Regions from separate parts of the Homo sapiens genome. Here all the other regions are linked to region 2. The links are contacts of gene promoters, found by promoter capture Hi-C in human tissues and cell types (Jung and others, 2019). All regions are on one chromosome and are shown on one strand. Each heading gives the region's core, a stretch centred on a gene start or on the middle of the fragment in contact. The rest is flanking DNA. Distances are from core to core; before and after follow the strand shown. Region 1 overlaps CPA6 (carboxypeptidase A6). Region 2 holds the start of CPA6 (carboxypeptidase A6). Region 3 overlaps CPA6 (carboxypeptidase A6).

Region 1 (2,925 bases), core at 279-2,778, 180 kb before region 2:
AACATGCTAATCAAGAACACAGATCTGGAGACAGCTGCCTGGGTTGCATTTGACTGATGGTTCTGCTTCTTATGAGCTCTACCTTCCTGGGATTATCAGCGTCATTCACTGCCTGAGGTTTTTGTATTAAGTGAGATCATATATGTAAAGAACATGAGTGACTGGCAAATTGTAACAACTTAGGAAGGTTAGCTAAATATCACCTTTTTTTCTAAAAATCTTGGACAGAACATGGGAAAGCACAGCTCTGAAATTCTTTCAGGGAGGTCATTCTTTAAGAGGCCTCAGCTGGGAAACCTGCTGTTGGAACAACCCATCTGGAGTTTGGGTAGGGAGAAGGAATCTCATATCCAGCTCCTTCTGACTACCTTTACACAAAAGTAGGCTGTGGGGCTCAGGGACGATTGATTGATACAAAAAGATCTGAGATTGTATAGCCTTAAAATCTCACTCCTTTCCCCTAGGAAGGCCACTTCCCTCCAACTTCTTTTCTCATGCTTTCTCTTTAAATCTGCAAATCTGCATGTTTAGTCCATGTCCTTCAAGGCTGTCCTTGATACTAATTTTACTGATTTCTACCACATTCTATGAGTCACAGTTAGAATTATTTATCCACCTTCCCTCACTCCCATGACTGAAGCAGTCATCTTAGGCTGCAAGTCTATTCCATATTTTGGGGTACGTGTAGCTCATTGATAAGTTGCCTCTTCAAAGGTTTCAATATGGAAGAACATTTCACAGTGCTATATACTGGTCCTAATATACTTCCACTGAATGGATGTTAGGAGGTCCTGGGGAAGGGACTTTGCATAAATTGTTCACAGCTGTATATCCAGGATGTGGAAGGGCACCTGCCACATGATAGGTGCTTAGCATTGCAAAAATGACATCACTGCCCCAGAAGAGTTTATCATCTTGTTGGCAAGACAAAATCCATGAATAGGAAACAGAAAGCACTAGGCAACTGGTCTCTGGTTCTAGGATTAAAGTTTGCCATTTCCTGGAGAGGTCTATAGTGGTAAAACCCAGATTTTTCTCTCTAGTCTCTGCCTGTGATGCTCCTAAAGCTTTTTTTGTTTGTTTGTTTGGGGTTTCTTTTTGGCAGCCTGTGCTTCTATTTCTTTCTCTGGGATGCAAGCTGAGCAGCGACGATTAAAAGTGTTCTTTTTTTTTTTTTTATGTTTTGGATATAGAGAACTACATCTAAGGTGTTAGCTTATTTAATTCAGGCCTCCTACTTGTGACTCAAGAATATATCCTTTTACAAAACTGAATTCTTATACAAGTGAGTTCTCAAGGTCATAGGAAGAGCAGTACAGAGCTGAATCAAAGGCACAGAATGTTCTTGTAGCTGTCATACCAGTAAAATTATACTCATCGTTGTCCACTAGAAGAGAAAAATGTCTATGTTTCCAGCCACTATTTCTGCCTAAAGTGAATTTTCTAATTTAAAAAGGCTTAATTCAGCTCTTTTCATACATTAAGTATGATGTCAATGCATTTTAATTAGGGATTAATATTGCTGATAGATTTCTGTGGTTTCTTTTTATGTAAAATGATCTGTAATGTGACAATATGTCTATCCCAATTAAACAATGATCAAAACATTCAGCTGCAAACAACAAAAGATAACACTATCGTTATGACAAATAATCCTTATGAAAGGATTTTCATAGGATTATTTGACTCAATGTCAAAACATGCTTACTGAAAGATGAACTGAGAACCGCAGCGTGGTCTTCTAGATCATTTAGTATGTAACATGTGGTCGGATCAGTTACGCCATCTGAATTAAAGCTAGAGATGGCTATCTAAATCAGCATGACCCGAAAACAAATATATTGGATAATGGAGAGCAGGTGGGAGGCAATGAGAGAGCAAGAATTGGGACTATGCCACAGCGTTTTTCTTTTTCTTTCTTTTTTTTTTTTGTTGTTGTTTTTTAGGATCTTGCTCTGTTGTTAGGTATGTTGTAAACTGCTGCAGAATCCTCCTCAAAACCCAGTTGTAGAGATTGAGACTGTCTGTAAATACTTCAAAGGAGAAAGAAAAAGAGGATAATGGGACGCAGAAAAACAAAAATGACAAGAAACGTTCTGTCAGCAGCATGCGATTAAAAAACCCCATACAGATCTGGCAGAGCATGGTTATTTCTGAAAATGACACTCACTTTGAAGGCTGTTCTTTTAGTCAGACCTCTGTTAGGCTAAGGACCTCTCCCACTGCTGACATGATAGATCAAAGGAAGCACCTTGCACTGTCTGAGGTGCATGACTAGCACAAGTCACTACAGACACAGAACAACAGAGCAGGCAATGGACGTGCAGCCAAATCACCATCACAAAATACCACTTCTTTCACTTCTTACAGGATAAACTACCTTGAAAAAGACCTTTAGGACTGCATAGTCAAGGATAGTTCCTTGCCAAACTGTTTAGTTTTTTTCCCAAGAGAAAATAGAATGAGCAGGTCATTAGTTGGTATGGATCAATTTCTACTCTGAAATGTGGTTTTATTTGTAATGTCAGTTTGTCTCAGCACCTTGACTCTCAGGAAGATGAGATCTCTCTGAGATGTCATCTTCACTTTGAAAAAGCTTTCAAAAAAATATCAGACTCCTCGTATGCCACTTTGGAGAATGCCTCCTGCAAATACTTGGATAACAAGGGTCACCATGACAAGGGAAACATCCTTTCTGTTGCCAAGACCAAATTAAATTTTCAGAGAGAATTTCACTCCTAAATGGTTACAGCTGATTCATGATTTTCATTTCTTTGCCAGACACTCAAATGGTTTCTGAAGGGGCTTCCAAGGCAAAAGCAAATCCTCACCTCTGGATAAATAGCTCAAGTCTCAGAGGAGATAATAGCCAATTCTCCAGTGTTCTTTTGTTTGGCATTCTCCTCTCTTCCCATTGTCGTTTCA
Region 2 (2,868 bases), core at 328-2,827:
CCTGGGATGTTAACTCCTTTCCGTTCCTCCCAGAAATACTGGGGTGGAAAAATCCGTGATCATATTGCCATCTATAGCCCCTACCTCAGCCAACACCTCCATCTCATCCTGCCTCCCCTAAAACTGAGGACATGTTTCCAAAATTTCCTCTGTAAGCACTGTATTCAGAGGAACCCTAAAGGCAGTGCCAAGATTCTTTGGGAGAGAAAGAGAAATACAATTCTCTTTTCCAGGGTCACACTTACAAATTCTCTTTTACACTATTTCTAAAAAGAACAACTTGGTTTTAAGACACTGTACACTACCTTGTCATGATCCAGATCTACATGAAAACTTTTCTCAGGTGGTGATTATTGAATGATAGTAGCCTATTTAAAAATATGTAAGACACTGAGTTTACTCCTCTGTAAAAAGGAATTGAACTAGAGGAAGTATTTAAGGTTTTTCCAGATCTAAAGTGCAGGCAAGCCATAATTTCCAGATTCTAAGAACGACCCCCTGCATATGTGAGCAAATCACATGCTGTCTATACCACAGCAAGCCTTCAGGATAATAAGAATGTGCATAGTAACACACGGCTTCCAGCCCTCTGCCTCCTGAAGAAAGGCATATAGAAAGCATGCTTACCTACGGAGGGGGGACAAAACTGATTGTTTTACTCCTATGTTTTTCCTTCAGAAAAACTATCCATAATTTTACAGTTGACTACTTTTATTCTGCTTATTTTGAGTTGAATCATTTGCATTGCTCATATTTAAAAATCTAATAACCACTCTACAGACTAATAAGCACAGACAAAAAAAAAATCACACTCAGTTCTTAATCACTGATGAATTTCAACCCACCGCTCCTACATACAATTGTAAAGAAAGGCTTAGTTTTCAGGTCATAAATCATGTAGGACAACAGCATCCCCAAGCATCAACCAAGGCAAACACTGTAAATACTGACCATGGCTACTCCAAAGACAGAATCCCATTCAACCCTGGGTCCACAGCTAAGGTTGGCACATGATAAAAAGTATAAAAAGCCAGGTTGGAGCCCACCACATTCTCTCAGTGAGCTAAAGCCAAGAGCAGAGAGCTGTGAGTACATTTTATATAGAGGACCGTGAAAGTGTGCAGATTCACTCAGAGACCCCCAAATCAGAAAAAGTGAGGCACACTCTGGAGCAAACCAGCCCCCAGATCCAAATCAAAGCTGTGTAGGGCATGAATGTCGCTCCACTTACCCAGCATAGCGGTTGTTATAAAGGTGGCTGTGCCCCGGTTGCAGAATCTTCAAAAAGAGCCAGCAAAGAGGCAGGAAAGCAGCTGCCTGGCCCCTGCGCTTCCCGAGACACTTCATAGTGTTAAGAAGAGAGGAGTTGAAAGTTACTTAAGCAGCCACCCGAGGCTGGAGGTGGCTCACAGCACCCTCTACACACCGCACAGGTTCTCCGGGAAGGGGGTGGGCGAGGAAGGTTGAGAGTGAGCAAAATGTGACACTTCTCTCCAGCTACAAGGGAAAAAAAAAGTTCAGGCAGCTGAGGAAGGGAAGTTGCTATTACGACTTGGTCTTGGGACAAGCAGCAGCAGCAGCAGCAGCAGCTGAGCCTGATCTTTAATCAGGCTCCCCTAGAAAGGGCTGGGCCTCCCTCGTGCTGACTCACGGCAGGGGTTCACTGGGTGCTGCTTCCTTTGGGTGACTCCTCTCTGCTTTTGGTTTGTTTGCTTTCCCAACTTGAGGCCTCTAACTTTTCTGTGCAAGCTTTCTTTCTCTATCTTCTTCAGCATGAGGATCCTACCTAATTGCAAATGATTTGTCTGATGGGCTAAACAAGCAGACATGGATTATTCCAAGCTTAATGTTTTTTTGATCTCCCATGACAGATTCCTAAACGGATTCCACCTAATGAAATGCACAATGAACAATCATGATGAGAACGTGCACGGGGGTACCTATAGCACCCAGATCCGAACAGCTGGCTTCAGTTCACTGCTCCTGACTTACAGGAGTGGTCAGTGGCTTTATTGGGCTTCAGGGAGATCTTGGTACTCATTCTGCATCAGCAGCACCCAGACCTGCTGCTGTTTCAGAGGTTCTCGTGGGGAATAGGAGGCCTTCGAGTGCTTTGCCACCTTGGCTGTACATTTGGAATCATTTAGGGAGCCAGACCTTGAAAATAGAAACCGTGGTGGTGGGATCAGTGGTTTAAAAAGCTCCTTAGGTGATTCCAATATTCAACCACCATGCTGGTCTGGAGCAGGGCTTCTCAGAGCTCCACATGCATAGAAGTCACCTGGGGATCTCATTAAACTGCAGCTCTGACGTAGGTTGGAACAGGGGCCTAAGAGTTTTTATTTTTCTTTTTTGAGACAGAGTTTCGCTCTTGTTGCCCAGGCTGGATGGAGTGCCAAGTCCCCATCTCGGCTCACTGCAACCTCCGCCTCCCAGGTTCAAGCGATTCTCCTGCCTCAGCCTCCTGAGTAGCTCGGATTACAGGTGCCTACCACCACGCCCAGCTAATTTTTGTATTTTTAGTAGAGACGAGGTTTCCCCATGTCGGTCAGGCTGGTCTTGAACTCGTGACCTCAGGCAATCTGCTTGTCTCGGCCTTGCGAAGTGCTGGGATTACAGGTGTGAGCCACCACGCCTGGCCGAGTCTGCATTTCTAAAGAAGCTTCCAGGTGATGCTGGTGCCACTGGCTCTTCAGCCACACTTGGAGTAGCAAGACTTCACTTTAGAATGAGGTCTGCTTTTTCTTCCAAGCAAACCTTGGAGAAAACCATTTCCTTCTCTTTTTTCCCATGTTGATGATGAAAGCTTTTTAAAATTATTATTTGCATCCACTTGCTCCTATTCCAATACGCCACAAAACCCATTAC
Region 3 (2,702 bases), core at 105-2,604, 200 kb before region 2:
TATATCTTTCGTACAACTTAAACTTTCTTCCCTTAATCCCCAACTTCCACCAGGATGCAAGCAGAGCTTACTGCGACTCCCCCTTCTTACCCACGCAGCTGCCTTTCACTTAATGATATACATGGGGAGTCTTCTGCCCTTTTTCATCCTAGAAGCTATTTGCAGATATTTTAGATCCATTTTTTTGGGGGGCCATCAAAGAGTAGGCCAAATTATTTTAAAGCCTGTTTGATTCATAATTTATCAACAAGAAAGACTTTTGCCTGTATACTTAAATTCCATTTTATATTTTTAGAAAGAAATTTTAATTTAATTAATGACTATAGAGTATAAGGATTTTTGGAATAATGATATTTTATAATTATAAAGCACCAGGTTATGTAGAAGTGATTTTTCTTTCAAATGTGTAGCAGCTCTTTTCAAAAAGTAGTTAAATTAGAATTTCATATATATGTTTTCAGAATGACAGAAGAATAATGTAGAAAAATTCACCTTATCCAGAATACAGCTCATTAATTTCTCCATAAACCCCAATGCTCCTCCCATATTTTTCTTTGAGTCAAGAGATTTGTTATCCACATTATAATGCACCCAAACTATAAATCTAACGGCCACTTTTAATGCTACTTCCTGGTCTACCTTCCAATTGGTTCTCAGGTAGATTCTGTCTCTGAAATGTCCCTCACCTTCAGCCCCATTGCCTGAACCTACACCTTGAATGTTTTCTTCCTGGTCTCTTACATTATGCTGCTGACTCATGTCCCTGGCTTTAGTCTTTCATTAATCTGTTTCTTTCCACAGTTGCTACTGTTACTTTTTTTTTTTTTTTTTTTTTGAGATGGAGTTTTGCTCTTGTTACACAGGCTGGAGTACAATGGCGTGATCTCGGCTCACTGCACTCCACCCCCTGGGTTCAAGCAATTCTGCCTCAGCTTCCCAAGTAGCTGGGAGAACAGGCATGTGCCACCACGCCCAGCTAATTTTTGTATTTTTAGTAGAGACAGGGTTTCTCCATGTTGGTTAGTCTGGTCTTGAATTCCTGACATTAGGTGATCCGCCCACCTCGGCCTCCCAAAGTGCTGGGATTACAGGCGTGAACTACCTCGCCTGGCCTACTGTTATCTTTCTAAAATGCAGCCACCTACTGAAAAATCTCTGTCATCCATCGAGTAGAAGATAAAGTCCAAACTCCTGGACAGCACATCTGAGCTCTCTGGTCATGCACCTTTTCATCATCTCCTCTCCCAGTCACACAGACAGACTCATCCCCCTCTGCCTCCATCCCCTGGCAGGATGGGTTTCTTTGCTGGAAGGTCTTGCTTGCTTCCTTACTATATCCCTCCCACCCCAAAACATGTCAAGAGCGAGGTGGTTTCAGGTTTTGTGGGAACCTGAGGCTTATACAATGTGGGGTCTAATGTAAGAAAAAGAGTACACAATTATGATTACAAAAATATAAACGGGATTGGAAGGGCCCCAGGCAATTGTAGGAACCTGAAGCTTCAGCTTGGTGAGCTTCCTGGTAAATCTGCCCCTGAATTATTGCTCAGTGAGTTTTATGAAATGATTGTTTATTAAGCTTTCTCAGTCTGGCCGAGTGACTAGGATAGCATGTGCTCATTAAAGATTTGTTGTTAAAGAATAAAACTCTACTGTCCCTCAAGGTTGGTTCAAATGTTACCTCTTCTGTATAGCCTTCCTTAATTTTTCCAGACAGTTATTTGCTGTTTCTTCCTTTTCCCATAGTCTTTGTAGACATCTTTATTATGGCACTTTCAACATCGCATGTAACTGCTTTTGTTTCTTGTATACCACTGTTTCTAAACCTTAAGGTACATCAGGATTAGCTTGAAGAGCTTGTTAAACCACTGATTGCTGGGCCCCATGTCCAGAGTTCTTGATTCAGTAAACCAGGGGTGGAGTCTAGGAATTTACACTTATTTATTTATTTTTAGAGATGGGTGTCTCTCTGTGTTGCCCAGGCTGGCCTCAAACTTGGGCTCAAGAAATCCTCTCACCTCAGCCTTCCAAGTAGCAGAGACTACAGGTGTGTGCCACCATGCTTAGCTTGAGGATTTACTTTATCTTTTTTCTGAGACAGAGTCTTGCTCTGTTGCCCAGGCTAGAGTGCAGTAGCACATTACAGCTCACGGTGGCCTCCAACTCCTGGGCACAAGCAATTCTTCTGCCTCAGCCTTCCAAGTCACTGGAACTACAGGTGTGAGCCACTGCACCCAGCTGAATTTACGTTTTTAACAAAATCCCAGGTGATGCTGAAGGCCAAGTTTATTTTTTATTTTATTTATTTTTTTTGTGAGATGGAGTCTCGCTCTGTCACCCAGGCTGGAGTGCAGTGGCGCCATCACGGCTCACTGCAAGCTCTGCCTCCTGGGTTCATGCCATTCTCCTGCCTCAGCCTCCCGAGTAGCTGAGACTACAGGCGCCCGCCACCACGCCCGGCTAAATTTTTGTATTTTTAGTAGATACAGGGTTTCACTGTGTTAGCCAGGATGGTCTCGATCTCCTGACCTGGTGATCCGCCCGCCTCGGCCTCCCAAAGTGCTGGGATTATAGGCATGAGCCACTGTGCCCGGCCGAAGGCCAAGTTTTAAATGAACTATACCTGATTCACTCTAAGCATATTCCTGGTACATGGTAGATGCTTAAATATATAAAAGTGAAAAAAGACTAAGATAAACATA

What was found. Contacts are between HindIII fragments. The study calls those that stand out against the background at their distance.
Region 1: a fragment that was not itself captured here is called in contact with the fragment with the promoter of CPA6 in region 2 in 3 of the 25 tissues and cell types used here (H1 embryonic stem cells, bladder and thymus).
Region 3: a contact is called between a fragment that was not itself captured here and the fragment with the promoter of CPA6 in region 2, in 2 of the 25 tissues and cell types used here (H1 embryonic stem cells and dorsolateral prefrontal cortex).

The regions. Positions count from the first base shown.
Region 1 is chr8:67,563,252-67,566,176 of GRCh38, forward strand. The region is part of intron 2 of CPA6 (carboxypeptidase A6); the gene reads right to left. All of the region lies in intron 2 of LOC105375886 (a long non-coding RNA gene), which reads left to right. Among named protein-coding and RNA genes, the nearest start is that of CPA6, 180 kb to the right of the region's middle. The HindIII fragment of the contact is 4,828 bases long and covers 1-2,925 here.
Region 2 is chr8:67,744,783-67,747,650 of GRCh38, forward strand. It overlaps CPA6 (carboxypeptidase A6), which reads right to left and starts at 1,578. Exons shown (of 11, transcript NM_020361.5): 1 at 1,232-1,578. The coding sequence starts at 1,347. RefSeq lists an enhancer at 1,404-1,904. The HindIII fragment of the contact is 6,623 bases long and covers 1-2,252 here.
Region 3 is chr8:67,544,750-67,547,451 of GRCh38, forward strand. All of the region lies in intron 2 of CPA6 (carboxypeptidase A6), which reads right to left. Among named protein-coding and RNA genes, the nearest start is that of CPA6, 200 kb to the right of the region's middle. The HindIII fragment of the contact is 5,580 bases long and covers 1-2,702 here.